6 separate regions of the Homo sapiens genome follow, and regions 1, 2, 3, 4 and 6 are each linked to region 5. The links are contacts of gene promoters, found by promoter capture Hi-C in blood cells and fetal thymus (Javierre and others, 2016). All regions are on one chromosome and are shown on one strand. The core of a region is centred on a gene start or on the middle of the fragment in contact, and the rest is flanking DNA. Distances in the headings are between cores, read along the strand shown. Region 1 has its middle 22 kb from the start of LINC01091. Region 2 has its middle 30 kb from the start of LINC02435. Region 3 has its middle 56 kb from the start of LINC02435. Region 4 overlaps LOC105377405 (a long non-coding RNA gene). Region 5 holds the start of SPRY1 (sprouty RTK signaling antagonist 1). Region 6 has its middle 49 kb from the start of LINC01091.

Region 1 (2,785 bases), core at 274-2,773, 230 kb after region 5:
CAAATCCCGTTGTTAGGGACCTAAATGGAAGGTAAAGTGGGCTGGTGGATTTGCTTTGAAATTCATTGAATAAACTTTGATTAAATTCACTTCAGAGAAGGGCTCACAATGAAAGAATATCTCCTAGTTACCGTGTGAATGAGAGTATGTCTTCTCTTCAATTCACTTCACTAATTTACGAATTTAGAAATTCTCTTTGTAAACTGGCAGTCATCTTTTTATTGAAGGTTTGGAATCTGACGATTATAACAAGAGTTCAAATGATAACTTCTTTGTCCCTTCTCATAAAATGAAGATAGCAACGAGACTGGAATTGAGGACTAACTAAATCTAGTGGCTAGGAGTATTTAATGTTTTCTAAATGGATAGTAACTAAAAGAAATAGACTTATCCATAAAATATGTATACATGTTTATAAACCTACATATCTGGAATATGGCCACCAATTAGGAAGTATATGCCAACAGCCTTCCATCAAGGAAAATAGTGACTACACAGCCCATATAGTGAAGTTTGTGCATTTTACTTACTAAAAGTCTCTTAGTTCCTTACTATGCTTGCTTTTTAAAGATGTTATTTGCTTGGGTTTTTGCTTTTGGCTTATATTAAAGCGATTTCATAACAAGCACTATTTGGAATGTATCACATTAGCTATTGTCAGAATGCCATTGAAGACATTATTCTATCCTATATTACCCTTCTTTATGAATATGATGAAAAAATTCTCTTAGGTCTTAATGTTAAGAGTGGTAGTACTTTTTCTGAATAGCTGGTTTGTTTTTATTTTCTGAGCATTGTGAACCTGTAACTAATGGATTGCCTTTTTATCTTTGCTTTGGCTTCCAGGAAATCCAGAGCTGTTTGCTACCTAGCACTAGCAATTACAGAGAGGTACAGAGCATGCAGTCTGCGTGTGTTACCTACCTTGGCTTTATTATTTTTCTTATTCTTTAATATATTCTTATTTTCCTTTTGTTCAAATTCCTTCAAAAATTATTTTTTGTAATTGCATAATTTTAAAAAGCTGCCATACATCCTTTGTGGAAAGGGATAAGTGTATATGCATTTGTAAATTTATGCATAAGTACATTTATAGATTCATACTTATGGCATGAGTGGTTTTCCAAACTGTAGCAAATTAGAAGCCACAAATTAGGAGAGGGATGATTGCTAGACAAAGGGCATTAAGAACGTCAACAGATGTGACAACTGATGAACTCCATTGAGGACACCAGAAGACTATCATTAAAAAGATAAGTGTGGGAACTCAAAAAGCACAGCTACCTAAGACCATATATACAGGGCCAAAAAACTCTACATGTCTCTCTGATCCAAGAAGTAGCAAGGTGCTATGATTGCTGTCTTAAAATGACCTCAACAGTAAAATAAGATTCTACTATTCTCCACATACTCTAACAGGACAGTGTTCTGTTTATTATCAGTTAGAAATATGTCCCCTTCCCTATCCCCAAAATGGTTCTCTTTAAAAGACTGAACTTCAAGTATTCAAAAAACTAACTTAGCAGAAAGAAGACCCTTACTTGTTCTTTTAAAAGCACCACATGTAAAGCATCTGTTGCATGACTAGGTTAGAAATCATTAGTTTGCTTCCCTACAAACCAATATTGCATCACCTGAACTGATCTGTCTTCAAAGGTAACTGAAGCCCACTGAGTGTGAGACTATGAGAATGATTCATTATTCATGGAGGGGAGGTTTAGTTACCAAGGACTGAGTGGGAATTTGGCTCAGATGTAAGTGATAATATAATATAATAATATAGTAATAGCAATAATGGCGGCTAACATGCCTCTCTTTGGCTCAACTACTTTTTTTTGTCTCATTCTGTTGCATGGGCTGGAGTGCAGTGGCATGATTTCAGCTCACTGCAGTCTTGACCTCCTGGGCTCAAGCGATCCTCCCACCTCAGCCTCTTGAGTAGCTGGAACTACAGGCACACACCACCATGCCCAGCTAATTTTTTTGTATTTTTTGTGAAGACAGAGTTTCACCATGTTGCCCAGGCTGGTCTTGAACTCCTGGGCTCAAGCTGTTATCCTGCCTCAGCCTCCCATTGTGCTGGGATTACAGATATGGGACACTGCACCCAGCTACTTTTGTTTTAATGAGGTGATAGAAAGTCCATGGCTCCCTGGCCTGCATGAGGAGGGGTGCACATGGCAGTGAGAAACAGATATTTGATTCTCAACTTGTGAGTGAATGAAGTCATTGGAACTATTACCTGAGTGTGGCATAGTGCCTAAAAGCATGGACTCTGGAGCAGAAATTCTGGGTTTAAATCTTGGCTTCACTACTTGCTGGCTGTGTGATCTTAGACAAGTTACTTAACTTCTCTGTGTCTTAGTTTTGCCAGCTTTAATATAGAGACAGCAATATTTCATACCACAAAGGGCTGTGAGAGTTAGATGAGTTACCATAAATAAAGTGCTTAAAACAATGCCTGGCTATATTAAACATTATTTAAATGATGTTATTTTTATCATTAAATATTACCACTAAGGTCAGAAGGAAGAATTTGTTTTGAGTTCTAAGGTAATATAAACATCCCCTTTCTTTTCACATTGCATTATATTTATCTTTATATGACGTTAAATTTGCAAATATGTGAATATCCTTATCCTATTCTATTCATATGCCTCTGAAAAAGGGGCAGGGTTCTGGCGAAATAGATTTGGGTCTTGGCAATAAACGTTTGGGGGTCTATTAAGAATAATTCCATATATCAAACCACAGATCTCACTTTTTAAAAAGTTAAATTTAATTT
Region 2 (2,795 bases), core at 61-2,560, 160 kb after region 5:
CTCCTGACCTCAGGTGATCCACCCGCCTCGGCCTCCCAAAGTGCCGGGATTATGAGCCACCACGCCTGGCCAATATAGACTTTATTATGAGCAGCAGTGTGACTCAGTTGAAAGTAAGAGTTCTGTTCTGGGGTCTCCCATACAGGTGAGAAATGACTGGAACTCAGCTTTGGATTCATTTCTTCAGTGGCAGTAGATGGAAAACTATGGTCTACCTGGAGGGAATGAGGGCCTGAAATGGAGTGACCATGGGAACATGGGTAGGTTACAGAAGGGAAAGCCAATGCAGAGGAGGGCCGACAGGATTCTCCAGGTGTGATGGGATTTGCCAGCTGGCGTGAGGGAGTGGGAGGATACAAAAATCACATCTAGCTTGGGAACCATGTGAAGAGGATGCTGGTGATGCCATTGACTAAAGTAAGGACGTTGGAGTTTTAGGGAAGAAGGTAATGAATTAGGTTTTGGACATGTTGAGTTTGTCCAACAAACTGCAGTTTATTTGCACCAGGACTGGAGCTTGGGGAAATTTGTATTGTACATTTCTAAGTAAATATAAAGTTGACCTTTTTTTAATCTTAATGTCTCAGATGCTTTATTGGGCTTCATAAGTTGTTACTTAGGGGACTCTGTTAATCATAATGGAGTAAGGCAATAGGTTTACCTTTTCTCTTCTCTGCTGGACCCAAACTCCAGAGAACTTCTTTCCCACCATTGGGCTTAAGGATCCTGAGAGTCATGACAAAGATGATGTTCCAGGAAAATGCCTATTTCTTAAAAGGACTTTTGCCCAGAATACCTATGTGTTCTTCCACCCCAATGAGCTCAAATGTGAACAAAGCAGAAAGCTCTTCAATTGTAGTCCAGAGGCATTTCTTAGTAGCATCCCTTATTTCCTTTTTGCTCTGAGCCTCAACCTGGCTCCACTTGATCTTTCCTGTCTCGGACCCATTGTTTGAGTGCAACAGACTAAGTGAGGGCTGCCCCATGTATTAAAGAGGGATGTAAGTAGAGAGTCATAGTCAGCATCCCTAGGTCCAGGAGAAAAGCTTATAATGGAAATATGGAAGTGAGGGTGAAATTGGATGGGGCTTGGGGACACATAGCAAGGTTAATAGTAATGGTGGTCAAGAGACTAAGAATTAAGGCAAGGGCTCTTGAGCTCTGGCAGCAGACTTTAAGTCCATGAACATGGGGCATTATGGAGAAATCTTCTAGTGTATCTTGCCTAGGTAAAAGCAGCTCCTTAAGTGAGAAAATCTGGGTCAGATAATGCCAAGGAAAGGCCTCAAAAAAGACATGTTCAGCAAGAGAAGAGAGAGTAGTCTCTGCCCAGTCTGTGTGTAATGTATAGTGTTAGTTACTAGTATGCCTAGATAATAACACTATAGATCCTAGATACTAACACTATAGATCCAATGTAGGTTGGAATAGCCTTTTCCTTCAGATTTTTGAAGGCATTCAAATTTTGCTTGCCTGATGTTGTTCACTTGCCTGATGGCTCCAGGTATTGCTGCTGAGGGGTGGGATAGCAATCTGACTACTTGTCCTTTATTTGTGGCCTTTTTTCTCTTTCAGAAGCTTCAGGACCATCTCAATTTGACATGGAAGTGCTTTGCTGTAAATCTTTTATTATTCATTATACTTTCCACCTAATGGACCCTCACTCATATTTCTTAGGTATGGGGAACTTTCTTTTTTTTTTTTTTTTTTTTTGAGACAGAGTCTTGCTCTGTCACCCAGGCTGGAGTGCAATGGTGTGATCTCGGCTCACTGCAACTTCTGCCTCCTGGGTTCAAGCAATTCTGCCTCAGCCTCCCAAGTAGCTGGGATTATAGGCGTGTGCCACCATATCCAGCAAATTTTTGTATTTTTCGTAGAGACAGGGTTTTACCATGTTGGCCAGGCTGGTCTCGAACTTCTGACCTCAGGTGATCCGCCTGCCTCGGCCTCCCAGAGTGCTGGGATTACAGGCATGAGCCAGTGTGCCTGGCCTGATGGGGAATTTTCTCACATTATTTCTTTGATAATTTCTTCCATGATATCGTCTTTTCTCTCTTTCTGGGAATCCTGTTAGTCACATGCTGCATCTCCTAGACATTTTTTTTCTCCAAATTTTCATCCCTTTTCCTTTTATTCTGAGGATCTTAGTATTGCCTTCTCTATAAGGTTTTAAGTTGCCTTATAAATGCAGTTTTTCCCCCTATTGTTATCAGAAGGATGGCTATGGTCCCCCACGAGTGGAGATGGGAATTGGAAAGTTTGACTTGGAAGCATTCTGAATTTTCCCCTCACTTGTAGCTAGTCATCACCCACATGGTTCTAGTTTTCCATGTGATTTGACACAACTGAAGTTCAGTGGCTCCTTGGATTGCTGAAATGAAATGGAGGCCTTCTTTGCAACCTGAGCTCTTCTAGCTTTCTGTTTCTCTGTGTCTTAGAACAGAAGTTCATGTTTTGGGTCAGTAATGTAAGTAAGAAATTGAAGAAGTAGATGATTACAAATGAATAACCTGTTGTTAGTAGTGTACATAGGGTGGTTTTAGATCTATGTAGATCATGATGATTTGGTTGTGTGGCTTCGGCAGCCAACCACCTAAATTACTTGAATGAAGCTTCTTTCCTGAAAGGAGCTTGGATTCATCTGAATTTCAGAGTACTTTCATTTGAATATCCTGTCAGCATAATTCAAATTTTAAAATGCTTGCTTGGGTATTGTATTTTTTAAATAGAATTTTAGCATTTAACAACATAAACCAAAATAATCTTCTCCTTCCACCTCTCCACTGAACCTGTAG
Region 3 (2,700 bases), core at 64-2,563, 180 kb after region 5:
AATTACAGGATTGACATGGGACGTATAGACATAGGGTTGGGAAGGAACCTGTAGACATCTTTCAGGAAAACATCGAAACCCCTAAAGAGAGAAAGAGTCCTGCTTAAAGACATCTGAATATACCAGAAAACCTTGGAATTGTTTGTTTATTAGCTTGATACATATGAAATTGCTATTTTCATATGTTAAAAAATGGTTAACTATTGGCTATTAGCCATATGAAATGTGGAGGTTGAATCATATGAAATAGCCCATAGTTAACCATTTGAAGATATGTTATAATTTAAAATACATTTAGCAGCTGTCCTTGTCATTAATGGATCCAAGCTTCCTTGAGTGTGAAATTAAGAGTGAATACAGTTAAGTAACATTGTTATAAGGGGATGAGAAAATGCACTCTATTGGACAAGAAAATTAGAGTATCCTGATTTAGATCACAATCCAAAGTCTCCTAGCATTTACTCCCTCACCGAGAGTGTTTTAAGTCATACACACTCCTCAGGTTTCTTAGGATGTTTGTTAGAAGGTGATTTTTGTCCCTTTGTGCATGAATGTGGCCCTGCAAACAGAAAGAGCATTAGATTCCACAGGGTACCTTGACAATGCCAAGGGAAGCAAGGAAGTTGAGGCTGGCCTTCTGTCTGGTGGTGGTGCTTAGACTTCTGTGCTTTGCAGCAGCAAAGCTGCAGTTTTGAGTCTGTGCTGTGCTTTGGTGAAGGTCATCATTGGGCAGATACGGATATTTGGTTTTATTATTTCCTCCAGAGATAATGGGACAGGGGCATATGAATCTTAAATATTTTTTAAGAGACTAAATGTTACTTTAAGAAAAGCCAATGTATGAATTTACTATGCAAAATCTACCTCTTTATGAATGCAATGTTTGGGTTAGCTGGCTAGGGCATTTCTATTTGAGGAACTGACTTAGAATAGAACTATAGTAAATATGATTTGAGTAAGTTTCAATAGATGGTCTTAAAAGTATATTTTCTTTTATTTGTGCTATTCTCTGGAATCATTTTTCTCCACTAAAAAGAAATACTTTCCAAACAGGCAATCTGTTTTAATTAGCCCCAAGGGAGGTATAAGAGGGTTCCTTTCATTGACAGTGTCAGCAAAACACGACTACATTTCTTTTCTCTTTTTTCTCTCTCTCTTATATTTAAGGTTCATCCTCTCTCTTCTATACTTAAGGTTCATCTGCTTACATCATTATAGCACCAAATGATTTCATTTCAACGTGCTTTATATGTTACGCTTCTCTAAAAATGCAGATGTAGCAAGCAGTAAATTCCCTGAAGGCAAGAGCGGTGTCTCAGGCAGTCACAGTGTACTGGAAGAGGTATGGGCTTTGGGGTAGAGAGTCCTGGGTTCAAATTGTGGCTTAATTTGACCATAATCTGTGTGCATGTGTGTGATCTGGGAGAATTGCTTAATTACTCTGACCCTGTTTCTTAATCTGTAAACAGATGAATAACTAACTCAAGGTTTCCTGGGGATTGAGTAATTACGGTAGAAGTGAAAGCATTTTTGGCTGAATACCTGGTACCAGGTGCTCAACACAGGTTGACTTCTTTGCCTTGTCTTGTCTGATCTTCTTTGTAAGGCACTATACACAGTAAGCACTGGGTAGATTGTCTCATTTTAGGTGGCCTGTTTCTTGATAATATAGACAAAACTCTTCTAATTAGTGAAAGCATTTTTGGCTGAATACCTGGTACCAAGTGCTCAACACAGGTCGACTTCTTTGCCTTGTCTTGTCTGATCTTCTTTGTAAGGCACTATACACAGTAAGCACTGGGTAGATTGTCTCGTTTTAGGTGGCCTTTTTCTTGATAATATAGACAAAACTCTTCACGTTGGTGGCAAATTATTTCCAAATCACACTGCATAACGGATTGCTATTGGAAAATTGTCTTGTAAACTAGCACCTTTAAATCTTTTGCCTGTAGCAGCTACAATGAGAGTGAGAGAGACAGAGAAACACAGAGAGAGAGAAAAAAAGAAAAACTCATTTATGAGGAGGGCAGTGGTTGTTATATTGTCATTATTGGGAAGTTTTATGGACATAAAAATCACAGTAGTTCTTGCTGGGACTCTCTTTGCCTCCTCAGCAGTTGAGTGGCTCAGCAGTTGATGGTTAATTCCAACCATCTTCTGTGGATTTTGGTTAGTTAACCTCAGAGGATAGCCCTTTGCATGTAGCCTCTGTTTGAGGGTTTCTTTTGTGAGCTTGTAGTACTTCATGTATTGAGTCAACCACTCAGTGCTAGCATACTTTTAAATGATTGGAGCCAATGAAAGCTTTGGAAAATAAATCTGTCTTGGGCAATATATGGCAACTTCTCTTTGAGTAATAGATGGTTTAAAATCTAACTTTACTTTTTCTTGCTTATGGATTCTTTGCTCACATTTTATAAAGCCAAGAAATTTTAAATTTTTTAAAGCCCTTGTGAAGATAAAAGATACAAGATAATATGTGCTTGCAATTGCTTTACCAAGGTTTCAAAAGAAATAAAAACAAAATGAAACAATTAAGAAGTCTCTGTCAAAGGTCTGGAAAATACGACTTTTGGATAGATTTTTCAGGAGACCTGTTTTGCATTAAAATACCAACTAAAACAAAATGATGGATTGTTTTGGCACCATTTAGATTGAGCTTATGTGATGAGAACTGTACATAAAAGACAGCCAGTTATT
Region 4 (2,815 bases), core at 171-2,670, 140 kb after region 5:
AAAGGCATCTAAATTCAGAAAGATGAAGCAAAATTATCCCTATTTGAGATATTATCCTTTATGTAGAAGGCCTCAAAGATCCACAAAAAACATTTAGAACCAAAAAAATGAATTTGGTAAAGTTGCAGGATACAAAAATCAGTAGCATTGGTGGGGCACGGTGGCTCACGCCTGTAATCTCAGCACTTTGGGAGGCCGACGCGGGTGGATCACTTGAGGTTAGGAGTTTGAGACCAGCCTGACCAACAAGGTGAAACCCTGTCTCTACTAAAAATACAAAAATCAGCCAGGCGTGGTGGCAGGCACCTGTAGTCCCAGCTACTTGGGAGGCTGAGACAGAATTGTTTGAACCTGGGAGGAGGAGGTTGCAGTGAGCCGAGATTGTGCCAGTGCACTCCAGCCTTGGTGATGCAGCAAGACTCCACCTGAAAAAAAAAATCAGTAGCATTTTTATACACAAATAATGACCTAACCAAAAAAGTAATTAAGAAAACAATCATATTTATAATAGCAAAAAATTAAACATCTAAGAATATATTTAACCAAGGGAGTGAAAGACTTGTATACTGAAAACTATAAAACCATGATGAAAGAGATGGAAGAAGACACAAATAAATGGAAAATTATCCTGTGTTCATGGGTGGGAAAAATTAATCTGTTAAAATGTCCTTATTACCTATAGCAATATACAGATTTAACACAATTCCCATCAAAAGTCTAATGGCATTTTTCACAGAAATAGAAAAAAATACTAAAATTCACATGGAATCACAAAAAACTCTGACTAGTAAAAGAAATGCTGAGAAAGAAAAATAAAGTTGAAGGCATCACAGTTTCTGAATCAAAATTATATTAGAAAGCTATAGTAATCAAAACAGTATGGTACTGGCATAAAAACAGAAATATAGACCAATGGAACAGAATAGAGAGCACAGAAATAAACCTAAGCACATGTGATCAACTGACTTTTGACAAGAGCACAGAAAGGACATAATGGGGAAAGAATAATTTCTTCAATAAACAGTGCTGGTAAAACTGGATTTTTTACATCAAAAGTGTGAAATTGGACCCTTATCTTACACCATACATGAAAATAAATTCAAACTGAATAAAAGACCTAAATTTAAGACCTGAAACCATTAAACTCCTGAAAGAAAACACAGGGGAAAAACTCCTGAACATTGGTATTGGCAATGAATTTTTGGATATCACACCAAAAGCTCAGGCAACAATAACAAAAATAAATAAATGGTACTACATCAAACCAAAAATCTTTTGCACAGCAAAGGAAACAATTGATAAAATGAAAAGGCAATCTATGGACTAGGAAAACAATTGCAAACCACATATCTGATAAGGGGTTAATATCAGAAATTTGTAAAGCACTCTTATAACTCAATAGCAGAAAAACAACCCAATTAAAACATAAGCAAAGGACCTGAACAGACATTTCTCTAAAGAGACATAAAAATGGCCAAGAGGAATATGAAAACATGTTCAATATTACTAATCATCAGGGAAATGCAAATTAAAACTGCTATGTGATATCAACCTCACACCTGTAAGGATGGTTATTATAAAAAAGACAAGACATAACAAATGTTGGCAAGGAGGTAGAGAAATGGGAACCCTAGTACACTATTAGTGGGAATGTAGACTGGTACAGCCCTTATGCAAAACAGTGTGGAAGTTCCTAAAGATATTAAAAATAGAATTATTATATGGCCCAGCAATCCCTCTTCTGGGTATACACCCAAAGAAGATGAAGTCACTACCTTGTAAAGATATCTGCTCTCTCACATTCATTGCAGCATTATTCACAATAGCTAAGATATGGAAACAACCTAAATGTTCATCAGTGGATAAACAGATAATGAAAACATGGTATATATATATATATGAATATTATTCAACCTTAAAAAGGAGATTCTGCCATTTACCACAATATGACCTGGAGGACATTATGCTAAGTGAAAGAAACCAGACACAGAAAGAAAAATATTATATAATCTCACCTTTATGTAGAATATATACATATTTAAAAAGAGCTCAAATACACAGATACAGAGAACAAAACAGTGGTTACCATGGGTGGGATGGGGGTGGGGATGTGGAGCAGGGTGGGAGGGAAAGGAAATGGGGGCAATGTAGGTCAAGCGATCAAAATAGCAGCACAAAGCAGTTTAGAGAGCCAATGTACAACATGAGTAATAAAGTTAGTAAAATTATACTGTATTGGAGATTTTTATTAAATAAGTAGATTTTAGCTGTTCTTGTCACAAAAAAGTAACTATGTGAGATGATAGATATGTTAGTCTGCTTCACTATAGTAACCATTTTACTACTATATGTATCCCATAACACTATGTTGTAAACCTCAAATATACATAATCAAATGCATTTAAAAAATAAAATAAAAGTGAGATCAAATTGGTTTCTCCAGACAGCTGTTGTATTTTTAAAAAAATTAATTCAGAGAATTATAGCAACATACTAGAGTGGTAGAACAGTATAAAAACTGAAGAATTATAGCTCCCTAACTGTTCTATTCCAAATCTTCTTTACAATTGATAATACTCTAGCCACTAAGTATTTTGTGCTTTTCCCTTTATTTACTTAATAAATTTGTTTCAATTTCACCAACTTCTATTTCCTGAATGAAGAACTTCCTGCATTAAGAAGTTCATTATCTGAATTACAACTTGTTATAATCATTCCACATATAAGGCAGAAAAACTGTCAATTACCCTGGAGTCTAAGCAAGACTCCTTTAATCTGTTCTCCTGATAGAATCAGGTTTTCGTGTTGATTAAAT
Region 5 (2,847 bases), core at 245-2,744:
TACTCTGATAGGATAGTCTATTTTTGATTTGTCTATTCCAAATACATTCACAAGAAACCTATCCATCACTAGTAAAATTTCATTACATCCCCAAATCTAATGAGATCTATGAAAAAAATACAATGAAATCAATTTTATTCTTTTAAATAGCCTATTTTAATACAATTCATAATATTAAGAGTGAATATGTAGCTTTTTGGCTTGATTCTTATTCTATGCTATTTTCTAATGATGCTTTTTTATTGTTATTCATGTTCTTAACAATGCTCTGTGTTCTTCAGAGGCAATTCCAAACACAACTTTAATTTTTGAAAGTGCTCAGACATTTGAAAGTCCTGTGTGTGTGCGTGTGTGTTATGTATGTATATATTTATAGTTTCAACAGAACCACTTGCTATTGTAAATGAGACTAAAAATGTACTTTGAACTAAAAATTTCCATACTTATATGTTTATATGATTTAGATTCTAGAGTTTTGTTATTGTTTGCTTTGTTTTGCCAGACTTTAAGCTACTCCTGATATATAGTACCTGGAAAAATATTTCCTTTCCACTAAGTTTTTGGTCTTTAGGTGGCTTTTAAAAGTTTCTACGGAACCTTCAATTCCACAAAAAGTTATCCTCACTGCAGCATGAAAAGGCACAACTTTGATAATAAATGCCTAAAATCCCATAGTTTGTAAGAAAGTAGAAATCAAGTTTCCTACTTAAAGTGTTTTTTTTCCAGTCATATCAGCTATTACTAAGAATTATAAAACTTCTTGATAAATTTTTTCTATTCTAATTAATTGACTTTTAGCTAATTAAAAAATATACGGGTTTGTATTTTTTGCAAAATTATACAACTATATTACAAAATTGAAAGAATTTGGTTTTTTCTCCATGTGCTTGATTTTTGGGAAATCATATAACAAGCCAAGGTAAAGCAATTATTTAAAAAACCCACAGCAGAAAATTTCACCTTTATTACATATGCTTATATTACATTTGCAGTAAGGAGTGCCACCTTTTGAACTTTAGGTTTCACATATTCTGAACTTTGTTGTAAATAGGAACTGTAATGTTATATAATCATCTTTTTGTGTCAATATACGTTTTCCCTCTAGTTGGTCAGAAGTGATGGCTTGGCATACAACTTTTTTCATTTTCTTTTATTCTTCACAATTCTTTTCTAATTCAACTTAAGAGTAGAGTCCACCAATCCTTTTAATTGAGATCGACAACTGAAGATTGCTAACTAAATCCGAATGTATTCCTCTATGACAAACTGCATTTGCAGAATTTTTAGAGGCACTCCCGAAGTTTTAAGAGGATGTTTATTACACGAGTCTGTAGGGCAACATTTCCAAGTTGGTACACATAAACGAAAGAGGAAACGATAGTTAAGGAAATCCTGTTCCAGGTTTTCGGGCAGCCCGAGTGATTGACACATGATATCACCGGAGGCGTGTCCTGGAGTGGAGGTGGAGGTGGAGGCAAGGAGCTGAAATTCTGCGTAGCCGGAGTGAGACCGCTCTGCAAACCACTGCGTGCTTTGCAGAGTGATTATCAGCACAGTTCCCTGCCCTGGATAAGGAACAGCTACAGTCGCTGTTAAATGTGCCTGAAAAGCAATTTGCAATCTTTGCATTAGGTAAGTACCGTTTCCTTCCGTAGACATTTTAGGAAAGATAAGGTGAGAAATGTTGACTTTTGCAAGGAACTGAACATTTATTTATTTGAACTTGCTTTCCAGCTAAGGTTACTGGTTGCATTTCAAAACACCGGTAGCATTCCCACTGCTAAAACTAATGCTCTTAAAGTAAATGCTACCGCTAAAAGAAAAAGCAGGGTCCCTTTCACCTTTCCTTAACCGAACAGTAGACGTTTAAAGTCTGAAACGATCGAATTTGTGAAACACAGAGCCGTTAATGCCTTTATGCGAAGAGGGGCTAGCACTCGGTGTGTGGACCAAATGCGTGTTTGTTTAGGCATTGTTGGCGACCGAATCCCGAGTGAAGCATTGGTTTAAAACCTGAATTTCCCGTCTCTGTGTATTGATTCCTAACGCGCAGAGGCGTTGCTTGAACGTTGTTTGAACTCCTAGGCATTCCAGGGGGCAAAAGCACCTCGGCAAAAACGTGCAGGACTGCATGTTACTTTGGTTCGCGGCTGACACGCCGACTGTGCGCCGGCCTGTCAATCACCGGGAGCAGCAACAGGGAGCACATGGCAACGGGCTGCGGGCGAGCTGGCCAGCGGCCCGCCCGGGGTCCCAGCCCTTCGAAGAAAGGGACATTCACGAGCTTCTATCTCTAATTCTCTGTCGCAGGCATTTCGGCCGTGGAACCCCAGGCTCGGAGGACTGGGTGTGAGCGCTGCCCGGGAGAGGCTGACCTGCCGGGACCGGAGTGCCCGGGGACGCTGTGCCCCCACTTGCCCAACGTGCGGAATCGGCTAAGCGCGTCGGCCTGCGCGGGGCACAAGGGACGACGCCCGCCTTTCTCTCTCCGAGAAGGATCCCCAAACCTCACTCTCTTCACTCCTCCCCGCTAAAAAAAAAAAAAAAAAGAAAAGGGTAAAAAAATCCCCCTCCCCCTCCCGGCCGCGGCAGCCTCTGCCTGGCAGGCGCGTGCTCCGAGGTTTCGCCGGGGTACTGCGCGGCTCCGTGACCCACCCGCCGACGGCGGTTCGGGCCCCGACCCGGGCGCTGCGGAGTCTCGAACGCCCGTGACGTGGATTTTTCGCTCGTCAGGAAGCCGCCATCCCTTCCTTCGTTCCTTGCGAGGAGCGACTAGAACCCGAGTTCTCTGAGCACACCGTGCCGTCAGCTGGCCCGTCACGCACTCGACTCCGCCACTCCCCTACT
Region 6 (2,700 bases), core at 189-2,688, 200 kb after region 5:
TAGAATGCTTTTTTTTTGGGAATCAGGGTGGCTTGGAGTTGTATTCTTTGTGGTGTATTTCTTGAAAAGATCCATTGGCTAATCTGGCTAATTCAGGACACTTCCTCTTCCTCTCCTCTTTCTGTGGCTCTCTCTTCTGTTCTCAGGGCAGCCACCATTAGCATGTGTCTACTGAAGGAACAAGTGTGGTGGGGAACAGGGTGTTGGGTCTCTGGGAAACTTATTTGCATACTTCTTGTTACAAAAGCCAACCACATCCTGGTTAAGACAATGTGCTGTCTGATAAACAGACTGCATCCCCCAGTGTCTGCCTGGAGCTCAGCCAGCGTGTGGCCCGCCTTTGTCACAAGGTGCTGTTTATTCTGCCTGGAAGTCCAAGGACAGAACAAACCAGCTAAATGAACCTTTTATTTCTCCCATTCTCTGACAGAAATTCCTTGAGTCAAAAACATGTATTAATATTAGGTTAAGGGAAAAGCATCAGAATTCTCCAAATATGCCTTCCTAATCCTGTGGAAAACATATAAAAAGCTTTGGTTTTCCTCTCTAGCTACAAATTCTTTGGGGTTTGAGAAAACTAGGAAACTTGGAAAATATAGTGCAAGGGCGATATAAAAATCGTGGTTTACCAAGACTTTTTGTTGATAAATATTTCTTTCCACATCTGTTTTCTATGTGTTTCCTTTCTCTTTTCCTCCCTCCCACCCCAGAAAACACAGACAAAAGGAAGTGGAGGCTTAAACAATTAACTGGTGACTGCAGGACCCATTGTTTAGGAATCTGGATAATTGAGTCCTAATTTCTCTGACTCCCTTCACTTTGGTAAATTATAGAAAGAAAAAGATTTTGAGACTCAGTCTCATTTTTGGCAGTTAAGGTAAGAAATCCATCTATGCTTCCGTTTTACTGTTTTTTTTTTCTTTTTCTCTCCTCTCAAAACAATTCAACATTTCCTTCTCTGCTTATTTCAAATCTAAATGTGGTACATATTTTAAGACATATTTTAACCACAAATTTTATTGGTGACTGCAATCACTGAAAGGAAGGTACTCTGTGAACACAGAAATTGTTTTAATGTTTTTAATCAATAATTCCTATAAACAAATTTTGTCTTGAGGAAATAGAATATGCAGCTATTTCCTTTCTGCATTTACAGTGACCTCTGAAATATATTACAACCACTCATCTGTATCTAATCCCACATGTGTGGTGAACACTTTAAGTAACTTATTGACTAGAATCCTTCTGGAGGTATCTGTGGAGGATGATGATAGAGATGATGTTACAGAACAGTTTGAAAAAGACGCCAATTGGCATTTTGAAGGATTACCAACATTTCTAATAAAGTCTCTGAAGAGATTTCTGGCTGCTTAAGAACAATAATATGATAGAGATTGATTATTTTGAGGTTTCGAAGTTAAATACTTGCATGTGGTGAATACTGAGGCTTATTGTGAAAATGAAAATTAGACCTATGTAGAAATCCTTGTGGAGAATGAGACGGTCAGGACTTTTATCAATGCTGCTCTTTATACAACTGCCTCTTTGGAGAAGAAGTCGGTTCACTGTCCTTGTTAAATTTCAACTGCGGCTGATTCTGAATCTTGAGGACCATTATGATGTGAAAAAAGAAAAAAACACTCACTAAAAGTTAATGATCTTTCCCTAATCTTTCAGAAAAGCTGATACTGACTGGTAGATAGTAGTGCTCTGTCAGAATTGTAGAATGAATGAATCAAGCTGATATAATTCACTAACCATCTACCCAAGCCAGGATCTGTGTTAGAGCTTTAGAGACACACCTTGTTTTATTGTGCTTCACAGGTGCTGCGTTTTCTGCAAACTGAAGGTTTGTGGCAACCTTGCATTGAGCAAGTCTATCAGCCCTATTCTTCCCAACAGCATGTGCCCACTTAGTGTCTCTGTGTCACACTGTGGTAATTTTCACAATATTTCAAACTTTTTCATTATTATTATATATATTTTTAAATTTTACTTTAAATTCTGGGATACATGTGCTGAACGTGCAGATTTGTTACATAGGTATACATGTGCCATGGTGGTTTGCTGCAATTATTATTATATCTGTTATAGTGATCTGTAATCATGATCTTTGATGTCACTATTGTAATTTTGGTGGGGGCACCATGAACTGCCCCCATACAAGATGGTGTGTTCTGACTGCTCCACATACCAATGGTTTTCTCGTCTCTCTGGGGCCTCCCTATTCCGTCAGACACACGATATTGAAATGGGGCCAACGAATAACCCTTCAATGGCTTCTAAGTGTTCAAGTGAAAGGAAGAGTTGCAAGTCTCTCACTTTGAATCAAATTTAGAAATGAATAAGCTTAGTGAGGAAGGCATGTTAAAGTCAAGATAGGCCAAAAGGTAGGCCTCTTGTGCCAAACAGCCAAGTTGTGAGTGCAAAGGAAAAGTTCTTGAAGAAATTAAAAGTACTATTCCAATGAACACATTAATGATAAGATAGCACAACAGAGGCCGGGCATGGTGGCTCACTCTTCTAATCCCAGCACTTTGGGAGGCCAAGGCAGGAGGATCACTTGAGCCTGGGAGTTTGAGACCAGCCTGGGCAACATAGTGAGACCCTGTCTCTATTTAAAAAGAAAAGAAAGGAAAAGAAAGTGCAACAGCCTTATGTTGATATGGAGAAAGTTTAAGTGGTCTGGATAAAAGATCA

The links. The method cuts DNA at HindIII sites, captures the fragments that hold promoters and counts their contacts. A CHiCAGO score of 5 or more calls a contact.
Region 1: a contact is called between a fragment that was not itself captured here and the fragment with the promoter of SPRY1 in region 5, in 8 of 17 cell types (M2 macrophages, megakaryocytes, naive B cells and 5 more). The highest score is 9.0, in M2 macrophages.
Region 2: a fragment that was not itself captured here is called in contact with the fragment with the promoter of SPRY1 in region 5 in 6 of 17 cell types (M0 macrophages, total B cells, naive B cells and 3 more); the score reaches 7.9 in M0 macrophages.
Region 3: a fragment that was not itself captured here is called in contact with the fragment with the promoter of SPRY1 in region 5 in 6 of 17 cell types (naive B cells, M0 macrophages, total B cells and 3 more); the score reaches 9.7 in naive B cells.
Region 4: a contact is called between a fragment that was not itself captured here and the fragment with the promoter of SPRY1 in region 5, in 4 of 17 cell types (naive B cells, M0 macrophages, M2 macrophages and 1 more). The highest score is 6.9, in naive B cells.
Region 6: a fragment that was not itself captured here is called in contact with the fragment with the promoter of SPRY1 in region 5 in 8 of 17 cell types (megakaryocytes, total B cells, naive B cells and 5 more); the score reaches 9.1 in megakaryocytes.

Annotation. Positions count from the first base shown.
Region 1 is chr4:123,626,859-123,629,643 of GRCh38, forward strand. No RefSeq gene overlaps it. Among named protein-coding and RNA genes, the nearest start is that of LINC01091, 22 kb to the right of the region's middle. The HindIII fragment of the contact is 3,329 bases long and covers 1-2,785 here.
Region 2 is chr4:123,550,517-123,553,311 of GRCh38, forward strand. No RefSeq gene overlaps it. Among named protein-coding and RNA genes, the nearest start is that of LINC02435, 30 kb to the left of the region's middle. The HindIII fragment of the contact is 532 bases long and covers 1,045-1,576 here.
Region 3 is chr4:123,576,195-123,578,894 of GRCh38, forward strand. No RefSeq gene overlaps it. Among named protein-coding and RNA genes, the nearest start is that of LINC02435, 56 kb to the left of the region's middle. The HindIII fragment of the contact is 1,977 bases long and covers 326-2,302 here.
Region 4 is chr4:123,533,434-123,536,248 of GRCh38, forward strand. It overlaps LOC105377405 (a long non-coding RNA gene), which reads right to left. Exons shown (of 4, transcript XR_939171.3): 4 at 1-425. Among named protein-coding and RNA genes, the nearest start is that of LINC02435, 13 kb to the left of the region's middle. The HindIII fragment of the contact is 3,042 bases long and covers 1-2,815 here.
Region 5 is chr4:123,395,301-123,398,147 of GRCh38, forward strand. SPRY1 (sprouty RTK signaling antagonist 1) reads left to right here and starts at 1,495. Exons shown (of 3, transcript NM_001258038.2): 1 at 1,495-1,632; 2 at 2,311-2,556. The HindIII fragment of the contact is 9,971 bases long and covers 1-2,847 here.
Region 6 is chr4:123,599,910-123,602,609 of GRCh38, forward strand. No RefSeq gene overlaps it. Among named protein-coding and RNA genes, the nearest start is that of LINC01091, 49 kb to the right of the region's middle. RefSeq lists enhancers at 125-419, 387-1,032. The HindIII fragment of the contact is 1,818 bases long and covers 530-2,347 here.